Regions from separate parts of the Homo sapiens genome. Here all the other regions are linked to region 4. The links are contacts of gene promoters, found by promoter capture Hi-C in blood cells and fetal thymus (Javierre and others, 2016). All regions are on one chromosome and are shown on one strand. Each heading gives the region's core, a stretch centred on a gene start or on the middle of the fragment in contact. The rest is flanking DNA. Distances are from core to core; before and after follow the strand shown. Region 1 has its middle 4.2 kb from the start of ZFYVE16. Region 2 has its middle 15 kb from the start of SPZ1. Region 3 has its middle 7.5 kb from the start of SERINC5. Region 4 holds the start of MTX3 (metaxin 3). Region 5 overlaps HOMER1 (homer scaffold protein 1).

The links. The method cuts DNA at HindIII sites, captures the fragments that hold promoters and counts their contacts. A CHiCAGO score of 5 or more calls a contact.
Region 1: a contact is called between a fragment that was not itself captured here and the fragment with the promoter of MTX3 in region 4, in 7 of 17 cell types (activated CD4 T cells, total CD8 T cells, non-activated CD4 T cells and 4 more). The highest score is 9.2, in activated CD4 T cells.
Region 2: a contact is called between a fragment that was not itself captured here and the fragment with the promoter of MTX3 in region 4, in 1 of 17 cell types (activated CD4 T cells). The highest score is 6.1, in activated CD4 T cells.
Region 3: a contact is called between a fragment that was not itself captured here and the fragment with the promoter of MTX3 in region 4, in 1 of 17 cell types (activated CD4 T cells). The highest score is 7.2, in activated CD4 T cells.
Region 5: a fragment that was not itself captured here is called in contact with the fragment with the promoter of MTX3 in region 4 in 1 of 17 cell types (activated CD4 T cells); the score reaches 5.0 in activated CD4 T cells.

What each region holds. Positions count from the first base shown.
Region 1 is chr5:80,402,532-80,405,231 of GRCh38, reverse strand. No RefSeq gene overlaps it. Among named protein-coding and RNA genes, the nearest start is that of ZFYVE16, 4.2 kb to the left of the region's middle. The HindIII fragment of the contact is 2,574 bases long and covers 35-2,608 here.
Region 2 is chr5:80,303,384-80,306,083 of GRCh38, reverse strand. No RefSeq gene overlaps it. Among named protein-coding and RNA genes, the nearest start is that of SPZ1, 15 kb to the left of the region's middle. The HindIII fragment of the contact is 2,646 bases long and covers 12-2,657 here.
Region 3 is chr5:80,262,148-80,264,890 of GRCh38, reverse strand. No RefSeq gene overlaps it. Among named protein-coding and RNA genes, the nearest start is that of SERINC5, 7.5 kb to the right of the region's middle. The HindIII fragment of the contact is 6,133 bases long and covers 1-2,743 here.
Region 4 is chr5:79,989,904-79,992,603 of GRCh38, reverse strand. MTX3 (metaxin 3) reads left to right here and starts at 1,342. Exons shown (of 9, transcript NM_001363818.2): 1 at 1,342-1,446; 2 at 1,941-2,010; 3 at 2,368-2,444. The coding sequence starts at 1,366. It also overlaps a transcript of THBS4 not described here. RefSeq lists an enhancer at 1,675-1,844. The HindIII fragment of the contact is 4,262 bases long and covers 1-2,257 here.
Region 5 is chr5:79,507,973-79,510,672 of GRCh38, reverse strand. The region is part of intron 1 of HOMER1 (homer scaffold protein 1); the gene reads left to right. It also overlaps the pseudogene RPL29P15. Among named protein-coding and RNA genes, the nearest start is that of HOMER1, 4.8 kb to the left of the region's middle. The HindIII fragment of the contact is 1,413 bases long and covers 700-2,112 here.

The sequences.
Region 1 (2,700 bases), core at 72-2,571, 410 kb before region 4:
ACCTATTAGTTGTGTGGCCTAAATTTTCTAAGCTTGATGCTCCTGTAGTCAAATGCTAATAGAACTAATACATTGATTGAGATAATCCACATAAAGTACTTAACTGAAGCACTGACTGTAAATGATGAATAACTGTTATTCTTTTTTTTTTCTTTTTTTGACAGGATCTTACTATATCACTCAGGCTGAAATGCAGTGGTTGGATCATGGCTCACTGCAGCCCCAACTCCTGGGGCCCAAGTGATCCTCCTACCTCAGCCTCCAGAGTAGCTGGGACCACAGGCGTGCATCACCATGCCCAGATAATTTTTATTTTTATTTTTTTAAAGACAAGGTTTCACTATGTTGCCTATACTGGTCTCAAACTTCTGGGCCCAAGCAATCCTCCCAATTAGAATTCAAATTCAGGTAATCAGGTAGTCAACCTCCCAAAGTGCTGGGATTACAGACATTAGCCACTGTGCCAGCCTAACAATTGCTATTCTTGATGGTTATATTTCTTTTTATAAATTGATCAGTTACATCCATGTTGTTATATCAGTAGCCTATGAATTTGGCTAATGCAAGTATAAGTTCCCTGGAGCACAATTACTTGCAAATACATTTTAAAACTGAATTTCTTAGTCTACTAAACTGAGAATAAGATACAGGGACTTGATGACCACTCCACATGTTTGTCACTATATGAAGACTCGTTTGCTCTGTTTTTGTTTCTGTTTTTGTTTTTTAAGGAGAATTAATAAGTTTGTTCATATAAAATTTGTAGCCTTTGATTACCTTTTAATGCCAAATGTCTACTAAAAATTTAATCTGCTAACAAAGCAATTGCAATACTTTTAGTAGATGTTTAGAATTATAATAACCTTTCCTAATTATGCTTTGAAAGAGTATTTAATTTGGGTTCCACAAAACTTCTGATCTATAAAGTAGTAAAAATAGATGAAATCAACCAACAAACCAAAGTTCAAATCAATGACTACTACTTTAGCCCAATAGTTCTCTGTGGAGGTGAGGGGTGATTTTGCCTCCCAGAGGACGTTTGACAATCTCTGGAGGCATTTTTGGTTGTCACCACTGAAAGAATGCTACTGATATCTAATAGATACAGGCCAGGGATGCCGCTAACTGTCTTGCAATTCACAGGAGAACCCCCAACAACAAAGAAGTTTTCAGCCTAAAATATCAACAGTGCCAAGGTTGAGAAACCCTGATTTAGCCAGTGAGTGGTTTAAAGCTAGTATATTTCTTCCAATTCCTAGTAAACAGTTCCTTTTTTTTTTTTTTTTCTGATGACCACAGCGGCACAAATGTGAGTTCAGAAATTCAGAACTGGGTTTTGAACTTCTACATAAGGCCCTATACCAATGAAAATTAAACTTTGTACCAAGTAGTACCCAAAGTTAACTAGATTAGAGATAAAAAATCTACAATGACCAGTTTTATGGAGCAGACAGCTGGTCAGTTGTACTCTGGCACAGAAAAATGCTCCATTCCTATTGTTCAGTTGCACCAGACACACGTATCATCACTTATTACTAAGAACCACTTTATAAATAGCTGTCATTTATTGATCACCTACTGTTTTCAGCCTTTATCTTATAAGTAAACCAGGTGTTCTCGCAGTATGAACATTGTTGCTCATCCATAAACAAAACCTGAAGTTCAGGATTTCTCCCTGCTGTTATAACTACTTTGTTAAGTACAGGCTGTTATAACTACTTTGTTAAGTACAGCAACACTTACTGGTCAAGGCCTTTATCAAAACAGCAAACTGAAGAACACACTCTCAACAGCCCATTCTCCTTTTGTACAAAGTGCTATAATTTAGTATTGGTTCTTGTGAGAGAGGCTTTTCAATTCTCTAAGGAAAGTTTTAGTTGTGGTGCTCAGATAATCGCTGTAGATCCTTGTATTTAATACAGCAACTGTATTTACTTAAAGTTATAAAGTCAAAAAGCTCAAATAACCAATATTTTTTCTGAGTTCTTTAGAAATATATGACAAACAATAAATTAATGACATAGCAATGATTTGTTGATAAACATAATAAATCTTATGAGCTTTCTATATCAACAGTAAAAAAGAGGAATAACTGGTGTTTAATTCAACAAACACTTATTCATTTTTTTTTTGTTGTTTTGTTTTGTTTGGTACAGGGTTTCACTCCCATTGCCTAGACTGGAGTGTAATGGCTCGATCTCGGCTCACTGCCGCCTCAACCTCTGTGGCTCAAGTGTTTCTCCTGCCTTAGTCTCCCAAATACCTGGGACTATAGGCGCATGCTACTGCACCTGGCTAACTTTTGTATTTTTTGTAGAGGCAGGATTTCGCCATGTTGCCCATGGCTGGTCTGGAACTCCTGGGCTCAAGCCATCCACCGACCTTGGCCTCCTGAAGTGCTGGGATTAGAAGAGTGAGCCACCAAGCCCAGACAGTTTATTAAACATAATTGCATTGTTTTTCCTATTGATCTTGCAGTCATTGCAAGATCTTGCAGTGCTTTTGAATTGACAAAGAAAATAGAGATAAAGTTACATGAATTTTTAGAATTAAATTGTGTTTTATTATATTAAGGTGATTTCCTTAACCATTATAATAAATGAAAGCTTATTCAATTAACCTGGTCCAACCCCTCTCTACACATATATTCAATAAGCAAAAAGAAATGGTCAGTATGGCATGAACCTTAAATTATTTTTT
Region 2 (2,700 bases), core at 85-2,584, 310 kb before region 4:
AAGTAAAAGCTTGAAGGTTAAGACAATGAAAAGCAAGCCAGTTGGGGACTGTGGGGGGAAGAAATCGACAAGCTGATCCTAAAATTCATATGGAAATTCAAGGGATCTAGAATAACCAAAGCAATCTTGGAAAAGGAGAATGAAGTAGGAAGGCTCATATTCACTGACAGTGATCAAGGCAGTGTGAAAGGATAGACACATAAAGTCAGGCACAATGGCTCACGCCTGTAATCCCAGCACTTTGGGAGCCCAAGGAGGGTGGATCACCTGAGGTCAGGAGTTTGAGACCAGCCTGGCCAACATGGTGAAACCCCATCTCTACTAAAAATACAAAATCAGCCAGCTGTAGCGGCATATGCATTTGATCCCAGCTACTTGGGAGGCTGAGGCAGGAGAATTGCTTGAACCTGGGAGGCAGAGGTTGCAGAGAGCCAAGGTCGTTCCATTGCACTCCACCCTGGGCAACAAGAGCGGAAACTCCGTCTCAAAAAAAAAAAAAAGAAAGGACAGACACATAAACCAGTGAAACAAAAGAGAGAGCTCAGAAATAGAACCACACTAATATAGTCAACTGATTTTTATCAAAGATAGAAAGGCAATTCAATGAAGAAATAGTCTTTTTCAGCAAATGGTGATGAACAAATTGGACATCTATATGCAAAAACAATAAACTTTGACACATATCTCACACCTTAGACGAAAATTAACTTTAAATGAATCATAGATTTAAATATGAAATACAGGCCGGGCACGGTGGCTCACGCCTGTAATTTCAACACTTCAGGAGCCTGAGGTGGGCGGGTTGCCTGAGCTCAGGAGTTCGAGACCAGCCTGGGCAACATGGCAACTCCCAGCTACTTGGGAGGCTATGGTGGGAAGATCGCTTGAGCCCAGGGGGGCGGAGGTTGCAATGAGCAGAGATCGTGCCACTGCACTCCAACCTGGGTGACAGAGAGAGACCCTGTCTCAAAAAAAAAAAAAAAAAATTAAATATGAAATACAAAGCTGTAAACGGCTAGAAGAAAACACAGGAGAAAGTCTTTGTGACTCCTGATTTGGCAATGACTTTTTAGATACAATACCAAAAGCATAATCTATGAAAGAAAGATTTAATAAATTGGACGTTCTAGAAATTAAAAACTTTCACTTGTGAAAGACATTGTGAACAAAATGACAAGCCACAGACTGGAAGAAAAAATTGCAAATTACGTATAAAATCTGCCTATAAAATCTTCTGCAGTAGATTTTGGTATATATGATCCTACACCAAAAATAACATTCTCAGACTCTGAACCAAGTGAATGGACCCCCATCAGCCAAGGGCATTCCAAAGGAGGCCTGAAAAACTATTTCAGGCCGTGATGGGAAGAAGGGATTTGTTGAAGTGATTGCCTCGTTATACCCTCTCTCCTTGGAATTTAGGCACAGCTGACCAGCATTAACATTAAAACAGAGCTTTTAAACTGTCAGCTAACAAAGCTGACTCTTCGTAGCAATAATACACCAAATTCCAACCTGACTCTAGTATAACATCACATGCCAGATAGCAGGCCCTGAAAGTGAAGTATTTTACCCTGAAATATATATTTTTTGGGTTTTTTTTGTTTTTGTTTTTGAGATGGAGTCTCTGTCACCAGGCTGGCATGCGGTGGCATGATCTCGGCTCACTGCAACCTCTGACTCCCTGGTTCAGGTGATTCTCCTGCCTCAGCCTCCCGAGTAGCTGGGATTACAGGCACGCACCACCACGCCTAGCTAATTTTTGTATTTTTATTAAAGACTGGGTTTCACCATGTTGGCCAGGATGGTCTCAATCTCCTGACCTCGTGATCCACACGCCTCGGCCTCCCAAAGTGCTGGGATTACAGGTGTGAGCCACCGTGCCCGGCTTCCTTGATGTATTTTTTAAATGGCCCTGCAAAACGACTCTTATGGGGGAAATCTACATTCTGTAGAGAACCTCCTTCCCTTTCCAGAACTTTTCCTGACTCAGGAGAGATTAACTAAGAGTCTAGCACCTTTTTTTTGAGACAGGGTCTCACTCTATCACCCAGGTTGGAGGGCAGTGGTGCAATCTCAGCTCACTGCAGCCTCGATTTCCTGGGCCTCGGGTGATCCACCTACCTCGGCCTCCCAAAGTGCTGGGATTACAGGCATGAGCCACCGCACTTGGCCAACCGCTTATCTTAATCCAGAGTTCCTTTCTGTTGATTCCAGGTCTTTAGATAATAACATAATTTTTTTCAACCAACTGCCAACCATAAAATCTTTGAATCCACCTATGACCAGGAACCGTCCCCGTCCTCACTTCAAGTTGTCCCAATTTTCTTTTTCTTTTTCTTTTTTTTTTTTTTTGAGACGGAGTCTTGCTCTGTCGACTGGAGTGCAATAGTGTGATCTCAGGTCACTGCAACCTCTACCTCCCGGGTTCAAGCGATTCTCCTGCCTCAGCCTCCCGAGTAGCTGGAATTACAGGTGTGTCCCACTTTTCCAGACTGAACCAATGTACACCTTACATTGATTGATGTGTGCCTATAACTTCTGTCCCCCTAAAAGGTATAGAGTCAAGCTGTAACCCAACCACCTTGGGCACATGTTCCCAGGACCTCCTGAGGCTGTGTCACCAGTCACAATCCCTAGCCTTGGCAAAATAAGCTTCTAAATTGATTGAGACTTGTCTCAGATACTTTTTGGTTTACA
Region 3 (2,743 bases), core at 2-2,501, 270 kb before region 4:
AGATTGGCAAGGGGGCAGGTGAAAGTGGGTTGAGAATTCAGCCTAAATGGAACATAAAAGAAACTGCAAAATAAATGCTGCCCACACATCAGGAAATAACAGCAGAAGAACATTATTTGAAAATATGAGGCTGGGCACAGTGGCTCATGCCTGTAATCCCAGCACTTTGGAAGGCTGAGGCGGGCAGATCACCTGAGGTCTGGAGTTCGAGACCAGCCTGGCCAACATGGTGAAACCCCATCTCTACTGAAAAAAAGAAAAAAGGGAAGGGGAAGGGGAAGGGGAAGGGGAAGGGGATATTGGCTAGGCACTGTGGCTCATGCCTGTAATCCCAGCAGTTTGAAACCCTGAGGCGGGTGAATCACTTGAGGTCAGGAGTTTTGAGACCAGCCTGGCCAACATGATGAAATCCTGTCTCTACTAAAACTACAAAAATATTAGATGGGCCTGGGTGCAGTGGCTCACGCCTATAACCCCAGCACTTTGGGAGGCTGAGGTGAATGGATCATGAGGTCAGGAGTTCAAGACCAGCCTGGCCAAGATGATGAAACCCTGTCTCTACTAAAAATACAAAAAAATTAGCCAGGCATGGTGGCGGGTGCCTGTAATCCCAGCTACTCAGGAGGCTGAGGCAGAGAATTGCTTGAACTCGGGAGGTGGAGGTTGCGGTGAGCTGAGATCGCACCACTGCACTCTAGCCTGGGCGACAGAGCAAGACTACATCTCAAAAACAAAAAACAAAAAACTAAAAGGCCAGGCGCAGTGGCTCACACCTGTAATCCCAGCACTTTGGGAGGCCAAGGTGGGCAGATCACGAGGTCAGAAGATCGAGACCATCCTGGCCAACATGGTGAAACCCCATCTCTACTAAAAATACAAAAAATTAGCTGAGCGTGGTGGCGTGTACCTGTAATCCCAGCGATTCGGGAGGCTGAGATGGGAGAATCACTTGAACCAGGGAGTCAGAGGTTGCAGTGAGCCAAGACAGTGCCACTGCACTCCAGCCTGGAAAGTGAGCAAGACTCCGTCTAAAAAAAAAAAAAAAAATTAGCTGGGCATGGTGGCACATGCCTGTAATCCCAGCTACTCAGGAGTCTGAGGCAGGAGAATCACCTGAACCTGGGAGGCGGAGGTTGCAGTAAGCCGAGATTGTGCCATTGTACTCCAGCCTGAGTGACAGAGTGAGACTCAATCTCAAAAAATATATATATGTATATATTTATATATATGTATATATTTATATATATATATATACACACATATATATATATGGAGGTGAATAGGGGAAAACTGTATAAATGACTGAAAGTGGTTGCCTCTGGGGTAGGAACTAGAAGGTAAGGAATGGAGACTGGAGAGGATATTTTTCATTTTATTTTTTGTAATATTTGGACCCATTTTATGTCATTGTCAATTTGTAAACTTTTGACACTAAAAATTTTTACTCTAAAAATTAAAAAAATTGCCAGGCGTGGTGGCTGACACCTGTAATCCCAGCACTTTGGGAGGCTGAGGTGGGTGGATCATCTGAGGTCAGGAGTTCGAGACCAACCTGACCAACATGGTGAAACCGCGTCTCTACCAAAAATACAAAAATTAGCCAGGTGTGGTGGTGGGCGCCTGTAATTCCAGCTACTCGGGAGGCTAAGACATGAGAATAGCTTGAACCCAGGAGTTGGAGGTTGCAGTGAGCCGAGATTGCGCCATTGTATTCCAGCCTGGGCAACAGAGTGAGACTCCGTCACACACACAAAAAAAGGGCCAGGCACGGTGATGGTGATCCACACCTGTAATTCTAGTAGTTTGGGAGGCCGAGGCAGGTGGATCACGAGGTCAGGAGTTCGAGACCAGCCTGACCAACATGGTGAAACCCCATCTCTACTTAAAAAAAAAAAAAATTAAAAAACATTTTGCATATGCTGGGTGCAGTGGCTCACGCCTGTAATCTCCGCATTTTGGGAGGCCAAGGCAGGTGGATTGCTTGGCCTCAGGAGTTCAAGACCAGCATGGGCAACATGGTGAAACCCAGTCTTTACAAAAAATACAAAAATTAGCCAGGCTGTGATGGTGCATACCTGTAGTCCCAGCTACTCAGGAGGCTGAGGTGGGAGGATCACTTGAGCCTGGGAGGTGAAGGTTATAGTGAGCCGTAATGGCATCATTGCACTCCAGCCTTCCAGCCTGGGCAACAGAGAGAGAGACCCTGTCGCCAAAAAACAAAACAAAACAAAACAAAACAAACAAAAACCTGTGCATATATTAATTTAATAGAAATAAATGACAATATAGCTATCAGAGAAATGGGGTGAAGGCACTATAGGGCTCTGATTACTTTTTGCCTGGGGCTTGCAAATTTATAGCTATTTGTTTCTAAATGAATACTTTGTTGTTTACTTTTAATTGAAATTAATTAAACTTCGTCCACTGGATTGAGGTTCCTAGAGACCTCATAAGTGAAAATTAAAGAAATTTCTCCTTTTATAGTTAAAAACCAACAGAATGCTTCACTAGGTTTTTTTTCAAAGTTGTTCATGTTTTAAATAATTAGAATAATTGGAAATTAAATTTGTAATAAAGTTGCGATCTTGGCTCACTACAACCTCCGCCTCCCAGGTTCAAGCGATTCTCCTGCCTCAACCTCCTGAGTAGCTGGGATTATAGGTGCCTGCCACCACATCCGGCTAATTTTTGTATTTTTAGTAGAGATGGGGTTTCACCATGTTGGCCAGGCTGGTCTCCAACT
Region 4 (2,700 bases), core at 93-2,592:
TAATGGTACATATGTTATGCATTTTCCAATTATACAGTTATTATTAATGAATTCTCATTTCTGACATATCTCTTTTTCATTTCTTAGAACTCTTGGTTTTGAAACATGTAAAAAAGACTTTAGCAGGCTGGCACTGTAATTTGAATGATTATGTAAACAGTAAGGGAGTGCCTAGCAAATATTTGTTGAATAGTAATTTTACGAAAAGTTGCAGAGGTTTCTTTTGAGTTTTAGTTAAGAAGATCCGACCATCTCAGTGGAATAGAGGAAAGAACTCAGAGGCATGACTGCGAGGGTGTCCCAGAAAGACTACTGTGCCTTCTAGAAAAAAGACCCAGCACCCAAGTTCTAACTCTGAGACCCAGTCATATGTTTGGATCATAGCATTTCCAAGACCAAAATTTCCTCTTTAATAGTTTTTCTGAGAAACTGTCAGGTTTAACGTCAAGAAACATTTAGTCTGTGCTCATTAGGCCCACAGACATGACGAGCTACATGATTTGAGGGGCCCAGTCCAAAATAAAAATGCAGAGCCCCTTGTTCAAAACTTAAGAATTTCAAGACAGTGACGGAAGAGCATCAGCCAAATGAGGAGCCTTTTTAAGCACAGAGCCTTGTGTGGCTGCACAGGTCCCAAACCTATGAAGCTAGCCCTCTTCTGTGAAAGGCAAAAGGTCTGTAGCTAGGGAGAGAAGCTACAATTCAAATATGCACAAGGGGCTACAAGAACCCAGAGCTCCTAACTTTGTAAAAACATCACAGGGAAGGTGAGTTAAGCTCATTTTTGAGGGAGCAGCTGCATAGGGAAGAAAGATATTCCAGATTGAAGGACCAGCACTGAAGGTGGGCACAATTTACCTGACGTTCAGAAATACTGTAACTTTTAAGCAGGGTTGTGCCAGTGAACATGAGGGTGAGAACAGGTTGAGGCTGGAAAGGCAGGCAGAGGCCACATACATGGGAGAAGGGGTTGAACAATTACTGAGTGCCTCCTGTGTGCCAAGTTCTTTCTCTCCGACATTGTAAATACCACAATCTTGTAAATACTGGGTCATCCCTGTTTTACAAACAGGTTAATTTAGGCATCACACAGATTTAATGTTCAAAGGGTTTGGAACACTCTAGGGATCTAATAAATATTAATATTTGAAGAATTACTGGTGGGTCTGACTTAAGGCACACAACTCTTACCCTTTAGGCCAAGCTGCTCCTAAGAGTTCTTCTTAATCCCTCCAGTCGTTGTTTCTCTCATCTCTCAAGAGCCCCCAAATTACCCTTCCCTCCCTTAGCCACGCCCCCGCGTTTCACGTGCCGGAAATTAGGAGGAAAAGTACTTCCGGGATAGTAAAGGTCGGCCCGCGCAAGATGGCGGCCCCCTTGGAACTCAGTTGCTGGGGAGGCGGCTGGGGACTCCCATCGGTTCACAGCGAGTCCCTGGTGGTGATGGTGAGGCCGCCTCGCGGGCCAGGGCGCAGGAGGAAGGGGCGGGGCTGGAGGCGCCAGGCTGACTTGCCCCAGTTTCCCGCTGCGCTGCGGGGTCCAGGAGGGCCGAGCCGCTGCACGCTGCATTGCCCTGGGCTCCCTCCCACCGACGAGTCCCAACCTGGCCGATACCCCCGCCGAAGGCCGGCGGCGACATCAAGGCTTCTCCGCTTGGCTCCGAGTTTTGTCCGCCTCACAAAGCTGTCTGGGCGGTGGAGTGAAACCCCGAAGCAAGGGGCGCGCCCTCCCTACTCTGCATCCCCAGGACCTTTTGGGGAGCAAAGTCCTCGAAAGCCGGGTGGCTGGCGCCCGCGTCCCTACTTGAGATCACGGGGAGGGATGCGGCCTCAGTATCAGTCGCCTTCTGCCTTTGGGGGATGGGGCTGTGAAGTAAAGCTGCTCTGCAGCTTTGCATTACGCACTTGGTCTAAAATGTTTGATTGCAAACTCTGTTTCAGGCTTATGCCAAATTTTCTGGTGCACCCTTGAAAGTCAATGTGATAGATAACACCTGGAGAGGTTCAAGAGGTATAGTGTAAACCTTTACACTCCCCTTTCTGCACTCTTTTTTTTCTTCTTCCATTTAAAGCTGTGAGGTATATAGCTATAATATTGAGGATTTAGTTTCTTACCGTGACCTTGGCTCTGTGTTGTTTATGGTTTGATCATTCTGAGTAATACCTCAAAGTGCAAGCGAAATCACTGGAAATTATGAGAAACGAAAATGTTCTTTAGAACCGCTCTTTGTGAAACAGCAAAAAAACCAAGACAAGCTTACTCATTTTTTCCCCTCTAAATGTGCAACTGCTATAGTTTTTAGGATATTGGAATCTCTCAGAGGAAATCACACTGTGTCCTTGTATGTAAACTGTTTTTTGATTATAGGCGATGTACCAATTTTGACAACTGAAGACGACATGGTTTCTCAGCCAGCAAAAATACTAAACTTTTTAAGAAAACAGGTGGGTGGTTCACTTTGAAGAAGTAGATTGGTAGATTGTTGATCCCTGCATGTTGGGCTTTATTTTATTTATTTATTTTTTTTTGCCAACTCATTAGACAATTGGAGATACCTGGGACAAGATGTAAAAATAGATTTGAGAATCACTGCTCTAAAGCATGAGTTCTGTGATTTGAAAGTCATATGAAGAGGTAGTCAGTTTATATTTTAATAAACTTTGCTTGAATTTTATTGAAATTTGTATGTAAGTAGATTTA
Region 5 (2,700 bases), core at 157-2,656, 480 kb after region 4:
TCCTTGGGCTTTAGGAGGGCCTTGATAGCCTTGGCATGTGCACTCATGGCCTTGGCACTGTTAGCCTGCATCTTCTTTAGGCCCTTCTTGTTGTGTTTCTTGGCAAACTGCATGTTCCTCAGGAACTTGGGGTCCACCCCCTTAAGAGATTCGTATCTTTGTGCTTCGGGTTTCTTGATACCATTTCTGTGCCATTTTTGGGACTGGTTGTGTGTGGTGTGGTTCTTGGACTTGGCCATGTCTGCACCTTAAGGCGCGGCTCCTGAAGCGCCTAGAATCTGAAGAGACAGGATGAATTTAATACTAAGGGGGCTGTTGTTTAAAGTGGGAAAGTTAGCACCACACATAACATGCATTTAGACACTTAGCATAATTAATTTGTTTATAAATGAATGTATCTGCCCTTTAGTTAATAAAGTTCTATATATGGACTGAGGAGAAAAAGGAGCGAGCATTTTGTGGTGCTATTTTTTTTTTTTTGGAAAGCCTGTATTTGGGGCTATGACCCTTTCTCATTGATAGTGACTTGAGTAGAGAGAGGAAGGGTAGATGGAAGTAGAAGAGCATACAGCAAAGGCATTTGCTGACGTTTCCACACTTTATGCGTATTTATGCCTAATAAATGTTTGTGGAATTAGCATAGCTGCCTGGACCTATTTCAAGCAAAAGGAAACAGGGCTTTAAATGGCTTTTAAAGCTTTACCTTGGCAATCCATAATTACCTTACTGTAATAGATATCTAAAATTTAATACTGTGGGTAAAGTGTTTCACATATTACAACCTTCTTTTTTTAAACTAATGTTAGGTTATAATAAGGATTTATCTTCGTCTTAATTGTAGATAATTATTGCAAGTCTAGGGGCAGTCTAAGCAAAGGAATTATTTTTAATAAAATCAGTGATTGGGCAGAAAAAAATTATGGCTCCCCTAATAGTAGTTTATGAACTTTTTGGAAATGGAGAAGAACAGCTGAAACTTGACAGTTGGCAAAGTCTGTCAAAGTATCTTGGATGTTGCATGAACTGTTAATTGCAGTGAAGGCAACTAAAGTATGGGTTTGTAAAATAGGTGTATCAGATCCCCTAAAAATTAAGGCATTCATGTATGTAAAATGAAGTCTCTGAAAAGTTTTGAAGCCTCAGTGAGGAGCCCCTGTTAGGTATGACCCCCACCCCCACCTCCAAATAGTATCTCATAATGACAGCAGTGAGTCAGTAGCTATTTCAGAACTATCACAGTAGGCAACAGAAATCAAGTAACTTCAACCACTTATTTCATGAAACCCTTTGTTTTTACTTAGCTCATTTTGGCAACCTAGTGCCATCAGCAATGGTAAAGAATTCTTTCCCTCCCTTCCCTTATTAAGAGCTACTTATACATAAAATGGGGCTCTCCCTGCTAATGGAATCTGTTAATGCTGTTTCTGATTTATCTCACCTGCCTATGGGAACTTCTGGAGTCCTTCCTTCCCCTCTTTCCCCAAATAACTTCCAGAAGCATGGAAATGAGTGCTGCTACATTGCAGCCCAAACTGAGTCTCTTTGCTGAAAGATGGGAAGCTGACACCTCCTTCTGCCTCAAACTGCAGGGTTCTGCTCTCTAGGGGTTGTAGCAAAAATGTGAAAATCTTGATCCAGCACTATAAATGGGTTTTATTGCAAAGATAACCACCCTATCATATCTGACAATAGACAACTTAGATGCAAGTCCTTAATTCGTCATTTGTTCATTTTACCAACTTTGAACCTTTGTTATAGTGCGTGTACTTACCTCAGTGCTGCTGATAGGAAGGCCAATACAATGTGCTCCTTCCCTTAGTGAGTTTATACTTTGGAAGTTGGGCAGACAGTCAAGCCTAAAATTAAAATGTGCAATGAAATTTTGTAGGAGCTATAATGTAGGGCATTATGGAGACACAAAGTGTGTGTTGGGGGGGCATTAGCTGCTGAGGGAAGGATAAAAAGGCTTTGTAGAGGAGGTGATAGTTGTTAAATACTGAAAGATGAGTACAAGTGAGCCTCTTAGACAAATAAGAGGGCATTCAAGGCAGAGAGAACAGTGATTGACACCACTAAAACGAGGAACTGCAAAGGAGTTTGGCATGACAAGCTTGTTTGCTTGAGCTAGCTCCCTTTGGTGTAGCAAGAGATAGGTCTAGAGCCTTATTATGCAGGGACTGGGTTGGAGAACCATGTAGATCAAATGAAAGATTGGATTATCCTGTAGTTTAGTGTGTTTAGAGGTTTTTTTGGCTATGACCCGTTGGAAAGATAAGCATCTTTACATTGCAACCCAATATGCTTGTATATAAATGATAAAATGTCACTACATAATACCCTTGCTTTGTATGGTACACTCTGGTAGTTTCTATTCTGTTCCGTTCTATTTTATTTTTAAGATAGACTGATGATGGTGACCCACTCAATTTATTTAATGACGCTGTGTTAGCAACTGGTAATTTGAAAAGCACTTCTCTTCTGTGTGAAGATTACTAAAGGGTTTTAAGCAGAGTAAGAACATGATCAGGGAAGTAGAATAAGAAAGCAATTTTAAAAATCATTTACAATTTGGTTTTGTGTCTTGTATCCTGTGGAAACACCAAGCCAGAACAATGAACTCTGGCTGGGTAGAGGAAGTGGACAGTTGGGCAGGCCCTGGAAGGTTCCGAAGTGGGGAGGGGAGGGATGGTGACTGAGAGA